Regions from separate parts of the Homo sapiens genome. Here region 1 is linked to region 2. The links are contacts of gene promoters, found by promoter capture Hi-C in human tissues and cell types (Jung and others, 2019). All regions are on one chromosome and are shown on one strand. The core of a region is centred on a gene start or on the middle of the fragment in contact, and the rest is flanking DNA. Distances in the headings are between cores, read along the strand shown.

Region 1 (5,589 bases), core at 2,051-4,550, 280 kb after region 2:
CCCCAATATTAAAATATTGGGGATGGAAACAAGCTCACATTGCTTGATGAGTGAAAGAGAAAGGAAAGTAGACAATGAGTATAGATTACTGTTTTTAGAAGGTTGTCTGTGAAGAGGAAAGATACGAATTAGTAACAGTCAGGGTATTTACTTATTTAAATTGATTATTTTAATGAAAATAGTTTTTAATTTGAGAGATATCTGAACATATTTATACATTGACCAGAAAGAGCCAATGGAGAAAACAAAACGATGTATATAGGCAAGAAGGGACTCAGAATCACTGATGGAGCAAAAGGAAACAAGGAAATGTAGAGCGCAGCAAAGCAGAAGGCCTTAGGAAGAGCAAAGTGCTTCGCTCAGTGAGTACAGAGATGCCAGACCTAATGGGTGCTTGAGTTACCTTTATTGCCACTTGAAGAATTCCTAGGCTATCAAAGAATTACTGAATTCCATGTTGAGAGAGTGCTAACTACATTAGGATACAGAACACTATGACCATCTGGGAAATAACTGAAAATCAGTTCACCACTGGGAATGAACAGGAACTGGTGGCATGTGCAGCTTCAGGCACTGTGGAAAAGTTCTGGTTCAGAAGGCAGATCTTTGCATTGGGGGAGATGATGATCTTAACAGTGGTCACTATAAGGGAGCTCAACATGAAATGACAGTGTTTAGAGTCAGGGCGTGGAGGAATTGGAATTACTTGGAAATCTGGGAAATCAGCATCAGAAAAGTCCTTCAGCTGTTAGAGCTGGAAGAGGAGATCTATCCTCTTAGACCAATATTTTATAGGCACAAAAACCCTTAACAGATTATCAACAATTGGAATTAAGCAATATTTAAAAAGGGATCATATATCATGATCAACTGGGGTTTATCCCAGGAATGCAAGCCTGTTTCAACATTTTAAAATCAGTGTAATTCCAGGAACAGAAAATCAAACACCGCATGTTCTCACTCATAAGTGGGAGTTGAACAATGAGAACATATGGGCACAGGGAGGGGAACATCACACACTGGGACCTGTGGGGGGTGGTGGGGGGCAAGGGGAGGGATAGCATTAGGAGAAATACCTAATGTAGACGACGGGTTGATGGGTGCAGCAAACCACCATGGGACATGTATACCTATGTAATAAACCTGCACTTCTGCACGTGTATCCCAGAACTTAAAGTATAATAAAAATAAAAATAAAAATCAGTATAATTCACTGTATCAACAGACTAAACAGGAGACAAAATATGAGCTTATTTAACATAAACAGAAAAAGCATTTGACAAAATTTATGAGGAAAACCTCACAGGAAGATGGGATAGAAAAGAACTTCCTCAATTTAATAAATGGCATCTAGCATCATATTTAATGATCACAGATCAAATAAGTAAAAAACAGAAAACCATAAAGAACATCAATGATACCAAAAGAAGTTTCTGTAAAAAGGCCAATAAATTAATAGTAAAACAAAACAATTGTTTGCTTGCCCTAAAATATTAAGAAAATAGTTTTTAATGCATGCAATGTGATTGAATATGCTCCGTAATTTTTGAAAATTTGGCTTAACACTTTTTGACATGGGATCCAAAGGTTTTGCTATAAGGTGAGTTTTATCTATACTATATTTTAGTGGCCATAACTGAAAAGGACGCTTTACAAAACACATGAATATACACCCGCCTGGGAGAAATACACATGAATTTGCTTAGTTGAGCATAATACTTATGTTTTTCAATTGTATTCACCTGTTATAAATTTGTTAAAATTTTGATAGTAATTTTCTTGCAAACTGAGAAGTATTTCATTTCCATATTTTCAGCAAATAAGAAAACACCAAAATTTTTTTACTTGGAAAAATTTTAAACAGGTTTGAAGATTGTTTTTAAGTTTAGAAATACATGTTTTTACAGGTGACATATTTTATCATTTTGAACTTTAAAGTCACATAATGATGGACAAGATTCCAAATGACTGTTTTCAAAACATGCTTTTGACAATGTAAGTTTCTTTTGAGAAGTAGTTACTTTCTCACTCATGGTTAAAAACCTTGAAGCCACATAGTAAATGTGTGCTTTCTTTTTCTTTTTTCAAAAGTATCTACTAACAGTGATTTCTTGTCACTGGAAAGATCAGCACACTTGAACAGTTGTCTGTTTTGTTTTAAAAAAAGTAACATCCTAAGTTTAATGATTCTTATAAGAAATTTACACAAAGATAGACTGTCTTTGTTATTAATTATTTTCATGGTCATCTCCTATCTCATTATGAAGTATTTAAGATACTTTAATTCATAAATTATTAGTTTAGCAGCCCTGGATCAAATCATGAGTTTCACTTTTGGCTGTCTCAGTCCTGTAACTATCAGGGATATATTTTTTTCAGAATTATCATAAAATATCCCTGTAGCAGGCTATCCTCAGAGGCAACATTCATTCATTCTTACTGGTTAATTTATCTAATGCTATCTCACAATTCTTGAATTCCTCACCCTTCTATTATTCGATGGCAAAAACTATGCAGTTACCTAAAGCAAGGGTTGGCAAACTTTTTCTGTAAATGGCCAGATAATAAACATTTGAGGCTTTGCAGGTCATAAGGTTTCTGGTACAACTACTCAACTCTGCTGTTGTAGCATGAAAGCAGTCATAGACAATACTGAAAGAATGGTCATGGCTATGTCCCCCCCAAAAAGCTCTATTTACAAAAGCAGGCAACAGGATAGGTGGAGTGTAGTTTGCTGATCCTGGCCATAAAGCTTTCTAGAACCTCAGAAGTTTCTAGATCCTAATAACCAGAGGCAGTAATGTAATTGTCTGATGCTAGTTTCCCATCTTGGAATATAAATGAGAGTTTCACCACCTCTTGCTCCAGTATAGCCAGGTAAACAGTGCCAAATGACCCAGTTTTCTGAAAGATCTGTTGCTTGTAACCACCTTCATGGTACAAATTTTAGAATACCTAGGGTTTCCAGTTCAGAATCACCTAGAGTTTTTGTAAATAACAGAATCTGACCCAGGCTAGCTAAAGCAAAAGGGAATTTATGGGAAGGATGTTGTGTGCCTCACAGGTCAGCTCATTTTTAAGCAGAGGGCAATTATCCTAGACCATCTTCCTATTCCACTTGATATCAGACTAGCTCATTGTACAAAATAACATCATGCTGAAATGACCGGTAGAGCAGGAAGTTGCAAGTACACTATGTCCTTGGTCACATAAATGAATGCTGGGGGATAGAAATGCCATGAAATATAGGAGCCTGATACCTCAGGGGTGTTTCTGGGGGTCCGTTATTCTGAGGCATGCAGAAATATGTGCTTCAAAATGAAGGACATGTTGCTATTCCTTTCGTGCCTTTCCAGCAAGAACAAGGCTTGGTGGGCCTTTCTGGATGATAATGACAAGAAGGCACAGTTGAGTGCCTTGTTTCAATCACACTGTCCAATGATCACAATGCTGCTATCTCTCAATGGAACTGAGAGCAAAAGAAGACTCTCTAGTAAGTTCAGGCTGAGGTGAGGTAGTGTGTGAATTGTCCCTTATGACACAATAAATCCAAGGGTGCTTGGAGATCCTGAGGAAGATTGGGGTGTTGTATGGACTTGCATTAAAACAGGAAATTGAGACAGGGGAACACGTTTTCCTTCTGTGTGTCAGAACATTATAATGTGCATGCATATAGATACCATCATTATGTGGGAACTGAGTCAACATACCAAGTCAGCCCTGATGCTTGTTATAGCTTTCCTCTTTCATCAGTTCAAAGCTCCAGTCCAACAGAACATATAATAAACACACAATAGCTTCAGTATGAAGAGGATCAAGATGAAAGAAAAGTGCCAATATTCTATCTTCCTAAAAGGAAATTTGAATGTGAGAAAGCGAATATGTAATTTAATTTTTAAACTGATTCTAAGTAAAGATATTGAGAGGAATGACTCCCTAAACTAGGAATGAGGAACTTATTCTAATGTGACCATCGACTCTAAGTTGTTTGCATGTTCAATGTGTTTCCTTCTCTATTAAAAAACAAAACAAAAAAATCAATGAATACTACTAACTTCCAGCCACAGGGAACTGAGAATCATGACTGATGTAACAACTATCAAGTACCATGCAATCCAGTTTTGAATATAAATGGCAAATATTAGATCAATAATTCCATGAAACCACAGTCACCAATTACCCTTCCTTCCTGCTCTGAGGTAACTAAAAGCAGGATTTTTATGTTCTGGGGATTGTATTCTTTACCAATCCCTCTTTCAATAGAGTAGGCTTATGATAAGGCTTATATATTCATTTTCATACCACCAAAAAAGGATTTGTAATAGTGAAAAAGCCATGAAATTGTTTATATTCCCTTATGCACTGCCTTTTACCCATTGCTTTTTAAAATGCAGGATTTTTTTAAAATCCAAAATACATGGGATTGATTATATAATTTTGAGCTGAGAAGGACCTTAGCAATCATTAAGTCATTCCTTTCATTTTACAAATGAGTAAAGAGAAGCATGATGAAGTTGAGTGATTTTAGTAAGATTTCATGGCTAGTTACTATCGGAACTCAGATCAGAAAAGCTATAGCTAATAAATACCTGCTTGCCCTTACAGCTATTTTGCCAGGTGTGAACAATGAAGACATTCCACCTACAGACTCTATCCTATCTAGGTCTTAAACTGACAAGAATAAATCCCAGTGGTTCATTACAAGTTCCGTCCCCTCAAAAGAATATGATTCAAACATAGTTTGTGTAATGCCATAAGCCTTATATGCTTGGGAAAGGGTGGAAGGTGGCTGGTGGGGGTGGTAAATTTCATCCCCTGGAGGTCGTCTTGAAGGTCTACTTATTGGAATCACCAGGAGGGCTTCTTAAAACATAGACTGATGAGTCCTATCCCCAGAGTTTCAGGTTCAGTGGGTCAAGAGTGGGGCCTGAGAATGTGCATTTCTAACATGTGATGCTAATGCTGCTATGAGAACTGCTGGCCAGTCTCCCCCAGTCCATTGGGATGCCAGCCTATTTTTTGTCCTGGTTATTTTCACTTTAGTTTCCAACGCTCCTGGATACTAAGCTTGCTTCCATATGCTTCCAGAGTTGCTTTCTAAGACCAAGTGAAGCCTTGACTTAGTGTTTTTGCAATCACTTCATGCTAAAAACTATTATTCCCCCAAATCCCTAAAATATGACACACATTTCTTTTCTCAGACTAGGCCCCTGGACACCTGAGCTCACTCAGGAGGAAAAAAAAAAAATCACTTTATCCTCTGGACTTGAATTAGGTTGCTGGGTCATCTCAAGTGGAGGTCATTCCTTTCTATTGCTGTTGTCACAAGCCCTGCTCCTGCTACCATTAGGTTGTGTGCAGTTTCTTATGTATTGTGTTTTCTCTCCAGGTGCTCTCAGAATACCACATGCTTAGTACTGTGTGGAAGAGTTTGGGCAAGACTGTGGTTTCTCTTTATTTGATCTCAGATCCTGTGTAACTATCTTTGTACCTGATAAAAATTCATATGTTTTTATTTGAATCAAAGGTGGTCATTTGATCTACAAATATACGTTGAATAATGTATAGGTTCAATGTTAAGACTAAAAA
Region 2 (5,945 bases), core at 3,386-5,885:
CTTGAGTCCAGGACTTCCAGACTAGCCTGGGCAACATAGGGAGACCCTGTCTCCACAAAAAATGTAAAATAAAAAAAATAGCCAGGTGTGGTGGCATATGCCTGTTGTCCCAGCTACTTGGCAGGCCAAGGTAGAAGGATCACTTGAGTTCAGGAGGTCAAGGCTGTAGTGAGCCAAGATGGCACTACTGCACTCCAGCCTGGGAAGCAGAGGGAGACAGAGAGACTGTCTCAAAAAAAAAAAAAGAAAAGAAAAAAAAAAGAAAGGAAAAAGAAAAGTTTGTGGGTTTGTATATCTACTGCTAATATGACTGCTGTTTTCTCTATCACTACATTCATGTCTTGCCCAATTGAACTTCTCTTTAGCTGTCTTCTTAATGTTGTGTTCTCCATGCACCTGCCTTCTGTTCTTCTGGTATGCAATGAAAGATCTCAGGCTTGCCATCCATCTAAAAGACAACCTTGAACCTATGGCCACTAGGCAACAATTCATTAAAGATGATCGTGAGCCTCCGAAGGGCCCTTGTACTAATTCTCAAATTTCTCCATGGTCACACTGATGACCCTTGTTCCAGGGGTTGTACCAGTTTATAGTCAACTTGGCCAGTCAGTATTTATGCCACATGAACTATTACACCATTGTAGAGATGGTTTCCCAAACAGCTTCTTAGTCCCTGAGGTCAAAGATGCCTGTGTTTACCACAGATGAAAAACATCCCAAAGTATTCTTTGAATGGCTGCCCCCAGACCTAAGGAATCTCAATGATGCTGTTTCATTGTTGTTTCCTGTTTCTTACTTTTAAACTCCCTTTATCCTCATATCCACCAACTCTCAAATTTGCTGGGTTTACAGATGTACTTTTGCAACCTAATGCAATGTTGGGACTCATAAAACAAGACTCCACAATGAAAGCCTTGGAAGCAGCCTGAGAAACAAAAGTTTTTCTCTGACTTTCACCTCCCCTCTATCTCTCAGTCCCATTCCCCACCAGGCTAGCCACAGAAACTAGCATCCCTCTTCCCCAAGGCAGGCCATAGTCACCAAAACCCCTTTTCCTCAAAGCCAGCCAAAAACCTAAAACTATTACTCTAACTTTCCCTCTGCCTTTCTGTGTAAACACTGGCCATCAAGAAGTTATCCAACCTACCTTTTTTTGACTATGGTCATAAGATCCCCATTCCAGAGAGTGTCTGCTCCATACCCAGAAGAAGAGAATGTATGCTCAGGGAGGCCAAGAAGATTCTCGACAGACAGGCCTTGCTGAGTTTTCCCCACTCAGTCTGTTAGCCTTAGATCATACTCTTTTTTCCAATCACATTTGGACAAAATGTACAGACACAACTGTCCATACTTTGTTGAACCTAAGCAAAAGAATAGACAATTCCCCCTGTATCTTCAGGTCTTCACTCTGAGGGCCTCCATGTACACATTAATTTGTAAGCCTTTTCTCCAATTAATCTGCCTCTTGTCCATGATTTTCAGTGAACATTCACAGAGCAAAGAGGAAGGTTTTCCCTTGGCCCCGACAGCATACAGCTGCAAAGACCAGCAAGAAATGCTTTTAATCTTTTTATGTTCATAGAGACTCTAATGTGAGGATTTTTAATATAAAATGATGATGATCACTAAAGCTATCCTGCAGTTTTAAAATGAAGAATAGTTTTAGAAATATAGCAATGAAGCACGTAAAACAAAAAGAACAATGTGATGATAAAGCAAAAACAAAGGTTGGCATCATTGCTGGGGTAAGAATGGCACAGAATACTGATTTTTTAAATGAGACCAAAAAAAAGAATTAAAGGTGATATATACCATGAGCATTTTTCTTATACTTTGTCTTATGCCGAGTTTTTTTTGTTTGTCTGTTTGTTTACTTTTTTAAGTTAGTTTCACTCACATTCCGAAATGGTCTAACTAAGAGGCCACAATGAAAATATAAAAGAAACATGGAGAGAATAACAGATCATAGCTGCACTTTCTACTATGCTTTTCTAACTGTTCATTTATATTTTGTATGATTTCTCCTAAGAAAAATGGAAAACCATTTCAGAAAAAGAACCAAAAGAATGAGAAGATTTTTAGTAGTCTAACCCACTTGATAGAGAACTACTGTGAGGACAGTAGTGAGCCCAAACTTTTTATTGAATACTCCTCATTAAAAAATTTAATGTTTCATATGTATATATACACACACATAAATTTTATACATGTTCTATTATACTGTGTAATTTATAAAATATATAAGGTATACAAAATAGAAATTTTTAAATGCTGAAATTAAAAATACAGAAATGAAAGCTCTAATTTTTTTTTAATCCAAAAGATTTTCCTACACTCCCTGGGATGAATTCTAGGTTGGACGACAGATTTTCAAGATTTTCCTTGCATCCTTAAGAAAAGTTAGAATAAATAGAAGACTTGGGCCCTTGAAGTTTAATTTGCTATTTGAAAACAATTCAGGTTTAATATAGCAAGTTAGCATATACATGTTTGAATGACTACATTTATGGTGTTATGAAGAAGTGCTTTCCGTTGTCTAAATAGCAGTTATGGAGAAAGAGTGCATTTGTTTGTAATATCTGATAAATTGGGCCCAGGATTGAGTTTATTTAATGAAATAAAAACTCAAAATAAACATTAATCTAGTAGTACAAACATCTAGTATTTACTATTAAATGATCACGATCAGTTATTATTGATAATAATCATAAGTAGGCTTTATGAAGGCATAATAGATTATTATCATTTTAACTAGATTACACACTTCTTAAAGAGAGCATCTTATAACCCTTTATTTTCCCAGTGTAGGCATAGCAAGGTGCTCACAAAAATGTTTACATTATTTCCCTTCAATGTATTTGCTCAGGCACTTGGGCAACTAGATCAAACCTGGTTTGCAACAAGTTTGATGAACCTGCTACCTGACATTTCTGTCCCTCACATGAAAACTTCCTGACATTCCTGTCCCTGACATGAAAGTTTCTCTTAATTCACAGTCAACTTAGCTACCACAGATTGGAACGTGAGGGGCTGAAATAGGCAAGGAGACAGCGTGAGGAGGAGGTTGCCTTAGAAATAGAGGATCAGCCTCATTATGTCTATTCGCCAGAAGGAAAAAAAAAAATTCCCCAGAAAGCCTTTCATCAAGGGAGGATCTAAACTCTAACACAGAACTGTTATCTATCCGCACATGAATTTCGGGGGAAGGAGGAGAAAGAGGGAGGTAATCGGTATAATTCACCCCCGAGGCTCTTTCCAGTTCCAAGACTGATTCAAAATTGGAGAGAATGGTGGAACCAACACACCAACATTCTGAACCCCTTCCACTCTCTCAACCAAGGAAGGAAGGAAGGAAGGAAGGAAGGAAGGAAGGAAGGAAGGAAGGAGATAAAGAGGGAGGAAGGGAGAGAGAGAGGGAGGGAGGGATTGGAGGGGAGGGGAGGGGAGGGGAGGAAGTAGGGAATGAGGGAAGGGAGAAGAGGGGAGAGGTGAAGGGAGGGAGGGAAAAGATAGAAAAAGATAAACCCTGGCCCTTTATGTCACTCTCCATTTCTGGGATGACCTAGTTCTGCCAAAAGAAGAACCCAGCAGCGGGGTGTGCCAGGACGAGGTACTATTCTCCACCTGAGACCCCACAGTAGCTAGAACAAAGCATTTCCTCTTCTCCACACCCCAACCCAACCCAACTGGCCTGAAATCATTTCACAAATTCTGGGGGACATCGAATCTCTGTCCTTGGCCTTGAGTAAACCCAGAAAAGTAGATGGGCCAAGAAATAGATTGGAAAAGTGGATCAGGCCCCGCGGCAGCAATTTAGATGGAGGGTAACGCAGGGGCGGGCAGGCGTGGAGTCTCGAGTTTATTCTCTATGACTGGGACACAGCTGGCTTTGAATAAGAACATTAAGTATACAGCACCATATTTTGGTCTTGAGCCCAGCCTCCAGCCCGTGGCACTCAGCCATTCGTCTCCGCCAGCCAGGCCCTGGCCCTGATTGCCGCGATGCAGGGAATGCCCATCAACTTGCAGTCACACCTGTTAGGTGTTTCTCCACTCAGTGCCTCCGCCCAGCAAGCGCCCCCCGCACGACCGGAGCCCCTGTGTTGAGTGGGCGCACCGGGAGGAAGAAGCAGGGCCGGGCCTTCCCGAGCAGACCCTGTGGGACTCGGTGCGGCGGGCGGGCGCGTGGGGGCGGCCTGAGAAGGCGGGAGAGGTCGAGGCAGGCGGAGAGGGGCATTGGCAGGGCGGGGGCAGGGCCGCCGCTGCTCGCGTTACGTTCCCAGAGCCTGCAGCGGAGGCGCGGGGCTAAGCAGCGGAGGGGATGGGGCTTCCACAAGCTTCTGCATTTCCCCTCACAGCCCCGGCGCCGCCTCCCCTGGCTGGGCCGCGGTGCCCGTTAGGCCGCGCAGGGTGAGAGCTAGAGCGGGCGCGGGCGGGCGGCACCTCGCCCGGGACTGGAAGGGAGGGCGCAGCGGGGCCACGGCGGGGGGATTCCGCTAGCCGGGCGGCCCGCGAGTCCCCTGAGTGCATCAGCCCCCGCTGCCGCGGGACCGCGGCCGGGACGGAGCTCCCTGCGCGCCCCCCGGGGGCCGGCAGCGGCCAGGAGGCGGCGCGGGGCTCGGCCGCTCGGCCCTGCAGCTCCGCGCACCCGGCAGCGGCGGCGGTGCAGCCTCGGGCGTTCGGACAGCCTCCGAGCCCATGGCGGGGAGCGACGTGGACAGCGAGGGCCCCGCACGGAGGGGCGGCGCGGCGCGGCGTCCGGGGGCCCCTGGCGGGCCAGGAAGCGAGGCGGCAGCCGGCTGCCCGGAGCCGCTGTCCACTGCTGAAGCGCCGGCTGAGAGCGCCACGCTGCCCGCCTGGATGCGCCTCTACTTCTACGGGATGCACGGGATCACCCTGGACGTGCTGGTGTCCTCGGCCCGGCGCTTCGCCCGCAGCCCGGACCTGCGGATGCTAGGCTTCTCCTCGCCCTACCGCTGCCTGCTGCACTCGCTCACCCATTTCGCCCTGGAGAAGGTGTACCTGCAGCAGCGGCGCTGTCCCAACGCCTTCGTCTTCAATTTCCTCCTCTACCCCTCGGCCCACGTGGGGCTGCAGACCCTAGCGGGCCAGGCGCTACTACTCAGCCTGGGCGGCGGGGCGGGGGTCGCGGTGGCGCCAGGGGCGCTGGACCTGGCGCTGCAGTACGTGCTGGCGCTCTACCACTGCCAAGTGTTCCTGAAGCGCTTCCTGCGCTTGCGGTACGGGCGACAGAGGCGGCGGCAGCAGCAACAGCAGCAGCAGCAGCAGCAGCAGCAGCGGAGGGGCGCGCTCCCCGTCCCTCCCGGCGCCCGGGTCCCTACTGCGGCCGGAGCCCGGCGGCGACGACCCCGTGGCCCCAGGGGCGCCGGGGGAGCCCCCAGCCAGGGGCTGCCCGACCTACCCCGCTTTCTTTTCTTCGGAATGCACGGCTTTCTGGATGAGATCTTCTTCACCTTCTTCTTCAACGTACTGGGGCAGGGGGACGGGACAACCAGCGGCCACACGTCGCTCTGGTCCTTCTTTATGTACGGCAGCTGCAGTTTCGTGGTGGAAAAGCTCTACTTCCACCTCCACTACAGCCGCGGTTGGGGCACTTGGAAGCGGGTGCCCATCTACGTGATCTTCATCTACGTGTGGGAGCTGTCCTGGGGTCTGGGACTCCGCACGTGCGGGGCTTGTTCCTGGGACTATTCTCACTACCCGCTCAATTTTATGGGCCTCATCACCCTGATGTATTTACCTGGCTGGATATTCCTTAGTGTGTACCAGGACCTAATTTCCAACGTGTTGTGGAGGGTGCAGTACGTACCAGCTAACTAAAACCAAAAAAGAAAGAAAGAAAAGGAAAAAGTCACTGGATTCCCACGAATGGATGCGATTTATTTTTACACATTTAAAATGAAGTGGGTTTTTTAGTCCTTTAA

Evidence for each region. The method cuts DNA at HindIII sites, captures the fragments that hold promoters and counts their contacts. A contact is called where the count stands out against the background at its distance.
Region 1: a fragment that was not itself captured here is called in contact with the fragment with the promoter of TMEM229A in region 2 in 1 of the 25 tissues and cell types used here (mesenchymal stem cells).

What each region holds. Positions count from the first base shown.
Region 1 is chr7:123,755,356-123,760,944 of GRCh38, reverse strand. No RefSeq gene overlaps it. Among named protein-coding and RNA genes, the nearest start is that of WASL-DT, 9.0 kb to the right of the region's middle. The HindIII fragment of the contact is 6,870 bases long and covers 1-5,589 here.
Region 2 is chr7:124,031,757-124,037,701 of GRCh38, reverse strand. TMEM229A (transmembrane protein 229A) reads left to right here and starts at 4,635. Exons shown (of 1, transcript NM_001136002.2): 1 at 4,635-5,945. The coding sequence starts at 4,699. The coding sequence ends at 5,841. The HindIII fragment of the contact is 14,772 bases long and covers 1-5,945 here.